Linked DNA regions of Homo sapiens: regions 1 and 2 are each linked to region 3. Evidence: promoter capture Hi-C in 16 types of primary human blood cells and fetal thymus (Javierre and others, 2016). All regions are on one chromosome and are shown on one strand. The core of a region is centred on a gene start or on the middle of the fragment in contact, and the rest is flanking DNA. Distances in the headings are between cores, read along the strand shown. Region 1 holds the start of KRT6C (keratin 6C). Region 2 holds the start of KRT82 (keratin 82). Region 3 holds the start of KRT73 (keratin 73).

What was found. The method cuts DNA at HindIII sites, captures the fragments that hold promoters and counts their contacts. A CHiCAGO score of 5 or more calls a contact.
Region 1: a contact is called between the fragment with the promoter of KRT6C here and the fragment with the promoter of KRT73 in region 3, in 5 of 17 cell types (endothelial precursors, neutrophils, monocytes and 2 more). The highest score is 9.2, in endothelial precursors.
Region 2: the fragment with the promoter of KRT82 here is called in contact with the fragment with the promoter of KRT73 in region 3 in 4 of 17 cell types (endothelial precursors, M0 macrophages, monocytes and 1 more); the score reaches 8.5 in endothelial precursors.

The regions. Positions count from the first base shown.
Region 1 is chr12:52,471,892-52,475,180 of GRCh38, reverse strand. It overlaps KRT6C (keratin 6C), which reads left to right and starts at 1,376. Exons shown (of 9, transcript NM_173086.5): 1 at 1,376-1,983; 2 at 2,901-3,115. The coding sequence starts at 1,444. The HindIII fragment of the contact is 8,852 bases long and covers 4-3,289 here.
Region 2 is chr12:52,404,098-52,407,612 of GRCh38, reverse strand. KRT82 (keratin 82) reads left to right here and starts at 1,278. Exons shown (of 9, transcript NM_033033.4): 1 at 1,278-1,746. The coding sequence starts at 1,336. The HindIII fragment of the contact is 6,676 bases long and covers 1-2,840 here.
Region 3 is chr12:52,616,728-52,620,058 of GRCh38, reverse strand. It overlaps KRT73 (keratin 73), which reads left to right and starts at 1,500. Exons shown (of 9, transcript NM_175068.3): 1 at 1,500-1,981. The coding sequence starts at 1,535. The HindIII fragment of the contact is 4,368 bases long and covers 1-2,803 here.

The DNA of each region.
Region 1 (3,289 bases), core at 127-2,626, 140 kb after region 3:
GCTTCAAGTTTTAATGATCAGTTTGCAGGAAATATAGAGGACACAGTAGCATCTTAAATGAAACACTGTGAGTAAGCAATGAGGAAATCCCAAAGACTGAAACACTACTCAGGACAATTAACCTGGTCTTATCAACAAAAGAATTGTAAACAATAAGGAAATAAATGAAAAAGGACATTGGAGAATTGAATAGACACATTGATGTTAATAAATACACAAATTGGCTGGGAGCAGTGGCTCATGCCTGTAATCCCAGCACTTTTGGAGGCTGAGCCAGGTGGATCACCTGAGGTCAGGAGTTCGAGACCAGCCTGGCCAACATGGCGAAACACCATCTCTACTAAAAATACAAAAAATTAGCCGTGCTTGATGGTGGCCACCTGTAATCTCAAACTACTCAGGAGGCTGAGGTGAGAGAATCTCTTGAACCTGGGAGGCGGAGGTTGCAGTGAACCTAGATCGCACCACTGGACTCCAGCCTGGGTGACAGAGAGAGACTCTATCTCAAAAAAAAAAGAAAAAAAATTACCCTTCCCCACTGTCCCCTCTACACCCCCTCTCTATGCTCTTTTCTTCCTAGTAAAGCATTACTTTCTTTCTAGCTCAGTGATGCCACTGGATGTGATGTCTTCTATCTCCTTTTGTGTTGTCATCTTTATTAGAGTCAACTCCTTGAGGGCGAAGACTTAATAAATACATACATTTTTAAAATACAAAATAATATTTCAGTTATATTTCTAAAAGGTCTATCATTTAAAGATTAATATTGAATTAATATTGAATTAAATCCCAAATATTTTTGGGATTTAAAAAAATTTAACATTGATAAGGGAACCGGGTGGAAATATACAAGAAATAAGACTGGCCATAAGGTAATCATCATGGAAACAGGTAATAGGTATATACAGGCCCATTGTGTTCTGCTCCTCTACATGTTTGAAATTGCACACAGAAGGAAAAATAATTACAGGAAAAATGTTAATATTTCTGTTAAGGCATTTGCAATACAGTGCTTGTGATCTCCAACATCTCTGCTGGAAGAAAGTCAGGCTGGAAAGAGGAAAGCACTCACAGCATGTTGATAAACAGCCTAGCATGCAGAACCTTTGCTGAAGACAGTGACTAACTTCAACTTCATGAACTGAGAATGCTCTTACTGTGCTGAAATCTCGAGTCAAAGCTGGAGGCAGGAACATTTTCCCTGACTAAAGGAAGTGAAAAATGCCATCTCAGCATTTCATAACTTTTCTGATCCAGGTGTGATCTCACTATTTGTAAAGCCCAGCCCTTCCCAACCTGCAAGCTCACCTTCCAGGACTGGGCCCAGCCCATGCTCTCTCATAATATATAAGCTACTGCTGGAGCCCGATTCCTTGTCCTGCTTCTCCTGCCTCTCGCCTCCAGCCTCCAACGCTCGCCACAGCCCTCTCATCTCCTGGAACCATGGCCAGCACATCCACCACCATCAGGAGCCACAGCAGCAGCCGCCGGGGTTTCAGTGCCAACTCAGCCAGGCTCCCTGGGGTCAGCCGCTCTGGCTTCAGCAGCATCTCCGTGTCCCGCTCCAGGGGCAGTGGTGGCCTGGGTGGTGCATGTGGAGGAGCTGGCTTTGGCAGCCGCAGTCTGTATGGCCTGGGGGGCTCCAAGAGGATCTCCATTGGAGGGGGCAGCTGTGCCATCAGTGGCGGCTATGGCAGCAGAGCCGGAGGCAGCTATGGCTTTGGTGGCGCCGGGAGTGGATTTGGTTTCGGTGGTGGAGCCGGCATTGGCTTTGGTCTGGGTGGTGGAGCCGGCCTTGCTGGTGGCTTTGGGGGCCCTGGCTTCCCTGTGTGCCCCCCTGGAGGCATCCAAGAGGTCACCGTCAACCAGAGTCTCCTGACTCCCCTCAACCTGCAAATTGACCCCGCCATCCAGCGGGTGCGGGCCGAGGAGCGTGAGCAGATCAAGACCCTCAACAACAAGTTTGCCTCCTTCATCGACAAGGTGAGCCAGTGCCATGCCCTCCATCGGGCACTTCAGGGTCCCCAGACCAGAAGAGCAACACCTTCCTGCTAGGGAGACCTAGGAGGGAGGGAGAAGGGGATTCAGCCCAGCTCTGCAGAGAGTGCAGGTGGCTCTCGGTGCACAGGAGGCAGCACAGATGGGCATCACTCCCCCATGGGATCTCTGGAGTGGCCCTCACTCCTGCCTAGGGAGAGCCGTAACTTTTCATAACCCTGAAGCACAGATGAGGCCATCAGAGAGTGGAGTAGGTTAATTCTCCCCTCTGAAGTGTTTAAGAGATTACAAAGCAAATGCCAGGAGTATATGGGCTGGTAAATTACACTCTGGGGTCTGGGTAAGAGGAAAAAGATTTAGAAAGAAAAGGAAAAGATAATCTGGCTGGATTAAGAAAAAAAGGGACATAGAAACAACTGTAAAACATGGATAAATGCTAATTAATTTTAAAAACAGAGAATGACCATAACATCAGAATATTTGAGAGGAGACACTAAATGGGAAAGTAGACTGAAATGTAATCATGAGTCAACATATAATATCTCTCCTAACTAAGATCCTATCAGTAAAAAAACTGTGTACAATATATCAGGTAATTAGTATTTTTAAACTAGATTTGTGATTGTGCCTGGAAAAAGAAGAGAAGAAATGTTGAAACTCACTGATGATCAATAGCTTACAGCGTGAGAACACCTCAATGGTCCATGGGACAATTTCTCTAGTGAGACTGGTGGGGTGCAAAGGAGAAGGGGTTGGGGGAGCAGAGCTCAGCCTGAGCCTCTCCACATGCACTGTAGTAGCCCAGCACCATGGGGACCTCCAAGACCTGCCAGGAAACTGGATACCAGACACTTTTTCTTCCTTCCTTTGCCTGGAAAATGACCATCTTGCTTCCCTTCCAGGTGCGGTTCCTAGAGCAGCAGAACAAGGTTCTGGACACCAAGTGGACCCTGCTGCAGGAGCAGGGCACCAAGACTGTGAGGCAGAACCTGGAGCCGTTGTTCGAGCAGTACATCAACAACCTCAGGAGGCAGCTGGACAGCATCGTCGGGGAACGGGGCCGCCTGGACTCGGAGCTGAGAAACATGCAGGACCTGGTGGAGGACCTCAAGAACAAGTGAGGACTCCATTTCCTGCAGCACACACTTCAAGACTATTGGGTGACCAGGGCCAGATGTGTGTAGGATTCCTAACAACCCATGTCCATGGAAATGAAAAGCACAAATTAGTCCCTAGGAGCAAACCTGCAAGAACCACAGATGGTTATGGGAGGATGGGGGGATTAAAGAAG
Region 2 (3,515 bases), core at 29-2,528, 210 kb after region 3:
CAGGATGGACTCCCAGCTGATCAGCCACAAGCTGTGTGACTTGGGGATGTTGCTCTTAACTGCTGTGCTTCCCATTTTCCTGTCTGTGGCATAGTAACTATCTCATTGTGTGGTCAGAGAATTAAATGAGACCATGGATGTAAAGAGTACGGAGTGGTCCCAACACACAATAAATGCCCAATAAATGTTTATTATTGTTATTATTATTATTATTGGTTTGATTTTGACCTGGTGATAAGTCTCAGTGTGGAAGGGAAAGGCCATTCGGCCATGGCAAAAGTTTCACTGATGAAATTGATGGAAAAGAGGAGGAAAGAGAGTGAGGCGGGGGCTTCAGACATCTCCAAAGAGCTGTGTCTGCGACCTGAGCTGGAAAGAAAACCTGAATCCCACCTCCACCTGAAAATTCCCAAGGGCAACAACTCTCCCCAGAGACATCCTCAGGCCAAAGCTGGCTCTGTTGACCTCAGGGACACTCAGGCTGGGTTGGGCAAAAGGGGAAAGGAACAGCCACATGGAAGCCGAGACCTGATGCTGAAATCATGCCTTCTGGGGGCCCCAGAAGTGTTGAGGAGAGCGTCCCTTCCTCTGCCCTTCTCAAGCACCAGGCCTCTCCTCTTGAGTTCCCTGCAGCCTTTGTGGACTGATGGGCCCTGTAGAAAAGTGTCTATGCCTGGAGTCTGTCTACCTTCAAGACCCTCATGGGACAGTGGGTCACTGAGCCAGAGCTCAGGAGGGTTAAGGTCCGGCCTGTTGTAGGGAGGATTCTCCCACCCCAAAAGCCTTCCTCCTGGGAACTTCCTGACTCACCTAGGAGCCCACAGAGGGCACTTGGGTTGAGGATCTGCAAAAAAGCCTAGGAGCAGCCTTGGGGAAAGAGCCAGAGCATCTTTAAGCATATGGGACTTGCCCTCTAATCCCAGAGAAGCCAGGGTGTATAATTCATGGCACGCCTCCCCTCCTATGAAATGACGTAGTCCCAACTCTCCCTTTCCTTGAGGCTGAGCCACTGGATACATGGAACATATCTGTCTGGTTGGCCCCTTTCATCACCCCCACAATCAAGGAAGGAGGACAAATAGGATTTTTATAGGGCCCACCAGCACTGACCATTGGCCCCTTCTCTTTGCTCTTCGCTACCCTAATTATCCACCTTGCTACTTAGCTCTGCCAATATCCCAAGCTCATAAACCTAGTTTAATGGTGATTTGGGGTTTGACACATCTCAGTCCTCCATCCCCCTACCAGATAAAAGGGGGGAAGCTGAGCCTGACTTGATCATCCTGCCCCGGTTCTTTCCTCCAGGGCCGCATTTCTCTGCCTCTCTCTCCTGCCATGTCGTACCACTCTTTCCAGCCAGGCTCCAGGTGTGGCAGTCAGAGTTTCAGCTCATACTCGGCTGTCATGCCCCGGATGGTCACCCACTATGCAGTGAGCAAGGGGCCATGCCGGCCCGGGGGTGGTAGGGGCCTCCGAGCTCTGGGCTGCCTTGGCTCACGGAGCCTGTGCAACGTGGGCTTTGGGAGGCCCCGGGTAGCCTCCAGGTGTGGAGGTACCCTGCCTGGCTTCGGGTACCGACTGGGAGCCACCTGTGGGCCTTCTGCCTGCATCACCCCTGTCACCATCAATGAGAGCCTGCTGGTCCCACTGGCACTGGAGATAGACCCGACTGTGCAGAGGGTAAAGAGGGATGAGAAGGAGCAGATCAAGTGCCTCAACAACCGTTTCGCATCTTTCATCAACAAGGTAAGGGGGCAGTGGCCCAGGGCCGTGAGAGGACCCACTGCAGATCTGGGGTCTGGTCTTGTTCTGGTCCAAGGGAACCAGGAGGAGACTGACATTGAGGAGGCCTCAGTTTATCCAGTGGCCTCCCTCACATTCCACGACCACCAGCCTTTGAAAGCCAGTTAGATCAGATTCTGCACTAAACATTTCTGCTTCCTTGTCTTTCTTAAAATATATCATCTTTCTCTGAATATTATCTGACAAAATCACCAATCACCAAGGTTGCCTGAGGTCAGACTATAAGAGGAACTTCCAAAGCAATACTGAAAGGAATGACCAGAGAGGCAGAGAAATGCCCTTCCTGATGAGGCTTTAACAGTAGAACCGCCTTCTGTGTGCCTGAGCTGTGTCACAACTCTTGAGCCTGAAGGTGAGGATGGACACTGTGACCTCAGAGTTTCCAATCATTTTAGGCCTGGGATGAGAGGAAAGTGGACAGTCAGAGCTAGAGGCACAGGGTGACGGTCACAAAAGTCTTACATCTGTCATCTCCAGAGCCACTGAAAGGCTGCTAGGAAGGCATGCCTTCAGAAGGTGCTGAACTGAATCTGCACCCACTGCAGGAACAGTGCAGATTCCCACATCTACAGCACAGCACCCACTGCAGGAACAGTGCAGATTCCCACATCTACAGTATAGCACCCACTGCAGGAAGAGCGCAGATTCCCACATCTACAGTACAGCACCCACTGCAGGAAAAGATGTGGCATGCCTTCTGAAGGTGCTGAAGGACTCAACAGCCTCTGGGTCCATCCCACGCCCCAGGGAGGCTCTTGGGGTGAGGATTCATTCCACAGTTTGAGCTGGTGTTTCTGGTGACCGTAAGGTTTAGGGGCAAGAGTCCTGGGCCAGAGGTCAGGAGCCCTGGCCACTGGCATTGACTCTACTCCTACACCCGGAATCCCCGGGCAAGCCATTCACCTCTTGGCCTTTGGACGGTGCTGCCCAGTGAGGAAGGGGAGGAATGACGGTGGGAGATTAGAGGAGGTAATATATGCCAAAGTGCTTCACAGAGGAACTTGTTTAGTCAAACTTACAGTTTTATTTCTAAAGCTTATTAAGTTCTGGCTATAAACTTATTCCAAAAACATGGGCCCGAATTAGCAACAACATCACACCACCTTCTGTTAGGCTGGGAGCCTCCTGTTGATGCAGCCACTGACCAGAAGTAGGGCAATGATACTTCTGTAGTTTTCTTGACAGACAATGCACGATGTGGAAAATTCCAGAGCAAGGGCTGGAGACCACGTTCCCTTAGTCAATGTCCAGCCGGGTGGCCATGGTGAACTTACTCAACTCCTAATCTCAGTTTCCACTTTACGAAAAGGGAGGAGGAGGCCAGCAGCTGTCCACATTACTAGGACCTGGACTTTTTTCAGATACAGCCATGTAGGATGCAGCACAGTAGGTGAAAAGAGCTTAGAGTCCCTTGATCCGTCTTTTCCCCTGAGTGTCCCTAGGCTGTCATAAAGGAAAGCCTCGACCCCCAAGCTTCACATCCTCTGACACTAGTATGAAGTTAACAGAGTCCCTTCCCATACACTGTCCCAGGTAGGAGCTTTGGGAAGCAAAGTGAGGCTTGAAGGGACAGGATGTCTTGGTCAAGGTCACGAGGATAGAGAGAGGCAGGCAGGCAGTGCTGAAACAGGACTTGCCTAGGCCTCTTGGAGAAGTACCATCCACTACAACACGCAACCTCTGAGTGGAAAGTAGGGGTCCACTAGGCTCTC
Region 3 (3,331 bases), core at 251-2,750:
AAGTGGCATTGCCTTTAGTGAAATTGAAGACATCAAAGAAAATGATTATTCTTAACTAGAAAACAACCATATTGTATAAAACAGAGGGGAGGTTGAATTTGGCAATTGCTTAGTACAACAATTTTAGAGGCATATCATAACCTCTATACAGAAATAGAAAAGAAGGATGGGCCAACTGTTCATTCAAGTACTCCAGCTAGTGAAATACTTGTGTTTTTATGGAGGAAATTCTATACTATGGATATATTTGGGATTTGGGATTTGGGAAACTCTTGGGTCACATACTTTGGCAATGTCAAGGATCCATGAAATTCAAATGTCTTCCCCTACCTCCCCATCTCCAAAATTGTGAGCTAGGTTTGGTCTTCATAATTCGGGACCCAAGAGCCTAGCACAGTACCTGGGAGAGAGTCAGCCCTCAAGAGAAGTCTGTTAAACGAATGGATAAATGAATGAACAAGTAGATGGCTGGCTGGCTGGTTGGACGGATAGATGGACGAATGAATAAGGCGGGCATAGCTCTGAATGTGGAGTCAGAAGACCAGCCAAGGGAGTCCTCAAGGCTGGGGCCTGTGCTTTTTGGGGGCATTTTCATTCTCTGGGATTCACACAAAGAAAGGACTCACTAAATGTTTGCTAAAGGAATGACATCCTCAATTATCTGAACCTTGGTTTCCCCATTTGTGTAATGTGGATCATCACCATTCCCCTCCATGCAGACTAAGTGGATTAAATGAGCTTCTTGTGTGAGGAGCTCTGTTACACTGTAAAGTGCTGCACCAGTGTCAGCCATCGTGAATGGTGCAATGACCATAATTTCAAGGTCAAGAGTCAGGGTAGTGGGATGGTAAAGGGAAAAAGAAGTCAGTGTGTGCAAAGGAAGGTGAGCAGGGCAGCCCGGCTGGCACAGAGGAGCAGGAGAGCTGCCTGGGAGGGCACAGCAGGGGGCTGGCAGCCAGAGGCTGGTCCTGGATTCCCAGTGTGCTCCTCTCCTATGGCCCTGGCCAGCCATCAAACCTGTCTCCAGGAACTCTGGGAAGCCAGGCAGCAGCAGCCTCTTCTTAACCACATAAAAGCAGCTCAGCCAGGGTCCCTGAAGCAGCCCATCTGATGCTGGCATGGTTGTGAGATTTCTAACAGATGACACTGTCAATTAAAGGTCTCCCCTCTGTACCCCTACAATCCCAGGCCCCACCACTCCCTGGGGAACAGCAATTGAGACTGCGACAAACCTCCCACCTAAGATCTTTCTATGGATAATGTGCCCATGCTAATTACACATGTTCATTAGATAAAACTCAAATTACATGAGCAAGACTTGCAAGACTAGCACTTTGGGAGTTTTCAAGTCATTTACCTGGTGTCTGATTTTGCTGGGAGAAAATGATTTCTTGCTTCCAGGCAAACTGAACCCACAAATTAGGCCCATGGCTCCCTCTTGAGTCCTATAAAGTGGGAGCCCAGGATCACAGGCTGGTGAACTGCATCTCAGCTAAGGGTCAGCATCTTATCCCCACTTTCTGGCCTCCCCACCATGAGCCGCCAATTCACCTACAAGTCGGGAGCTGCTGCCAAGGGGGGCTTCAGCGGCTGCTCCGCTGTGCTCTCAGGGGGCAGCTCATCCTCCTACCGAGCAGGGGGCAAAGGGCTCAGTGGAGGCTTCAGCAGTCGGAGCCTTTACAGCCTGGGGGGTGCCCGGAGCATCTCTTTCAATGTGGCCAGTGGCAGTGGGTGGGCAGGAGGCTATGGATTTGGCCGGGGCCGGGCCAGTGGCTTTGCTGGCAGCATGTTTGGCAGTGTGGCCTTGGGGTCCGTGTGTCCGTCGTTGTGCCCGCCCGGGGGTATCCATCAGGTCACCATCAACAAGAGCCTCCTGGCACCCCTGAACGTGGAGCTGGACCCTGAAATCCAGAAAGTGCGTGCCCAGGAGCGGGAGCAGATCAAGGTGCTGAACAACAAGTTCGCCTCCTTCATTGACAAGGTGGGTCTTTCTGGAGAAAGCTGATCTTGGGCTCCCCTTTTAAGGACTCAGGAGGGAGCCACTGCCCTAATTTGTGGTTCAATTTGCCTGAGAGCAAGAAATCATTTTCTCCCAGCAAAATCAGACACCAGGTAAACAACTTGAAAGCTCCCCAGGTGCTGGGCCCATAAGGCTTGCTCATGCCGTAGAGCCCCTTCCTTCCCCCGCCTTCATTGTCCTTGGGGTGCTCCCTGTCTGAAGCAGACGAAGGCAGGACACCTCCCCAGGATGCAGACATAGCCCAGGGAGGAACTGGACAAAGCCTGGACATCAGAGGCAAGGGACCAGGGTTGGAGGGGTGAGAGGAGCCAGCAGCCTAGCCCAGGAAGGTGTCCAGGAAGCAATGAGAGCGGTCTCTGAGTTGAGAAGTAGCAGAGTGACAGCCTGTGAGACTTAGAAGCTAGGCGAAGGAGATGCCCTTGACAGCCTGGGGCATCTAGACTGCCATGCGACCCAGCTGTTCCTCCTGTGTCCCCTGAAAGCTCAGACTCAGTCCGTAACACACACAGCCTATGAGGCAAGGCAGCTGGAGGTCACGGTGCCCTAGAGCAGTGGTTCTCAAAGGTGGCCCTGGAACCAGCAGCAGCAACGTCACCTGGACGCTTGTTAGAATGCACACTCTCAGGCTCCACCCCAGAGCAACTGAATCAGAGACTCTGCAGCAGGGCCCAGCACCCTGCATTTTAACAAGCTCTCCAGGTGATGCTGATGTACACTCAGGTTTGAGAATCACTGAGGAACAAAGTGGTAGGAAGGTATTGGGAAGCAGAGACTTCCTAAGCTTAGAGGAGCAGGGGAAGCTCACCCGGAGCGACAGTGAGGTAGGGTGGTGAGGCATGAGTAGGAGTTTTCAGATGGAGGTGGGGAAAAGGCAATCTAGGGAGACAGCACGTGCAGCATGGTAGAACTTGTCTGGGGAATGGGAGACCTTCGGTTTACGACATCACTGTATGAGTAAAGAAGGAAGCCAGGAGGGCTGGGCACATTATGAAGAGTGTGATAAGGAATATGGACTTGACCCTGAGGGTGATGTGGAACCACCTGAGGGTTTTAAGCAAGGGAATGATATATTTGTAGGTTGCAACTTGAGAATGCTTGTTCTGCTGCTGGGACAATGCTGTGATTGAGATAGTAGAGATTCAGACATGAAAGCAACTTAGGAGGGCCGGAGACCCCAGATAAGCTGAACATCTGCCTCTGGCTGGGCTGGGAGAGCCCACGCACAAGGAGGGAGAGACTAGGCAGAGCACGGGCCACCAGACCCCGAGCAGAAGGCCTGACAGTGTGAAGGCTAGCACAGGCCAGCTTGTG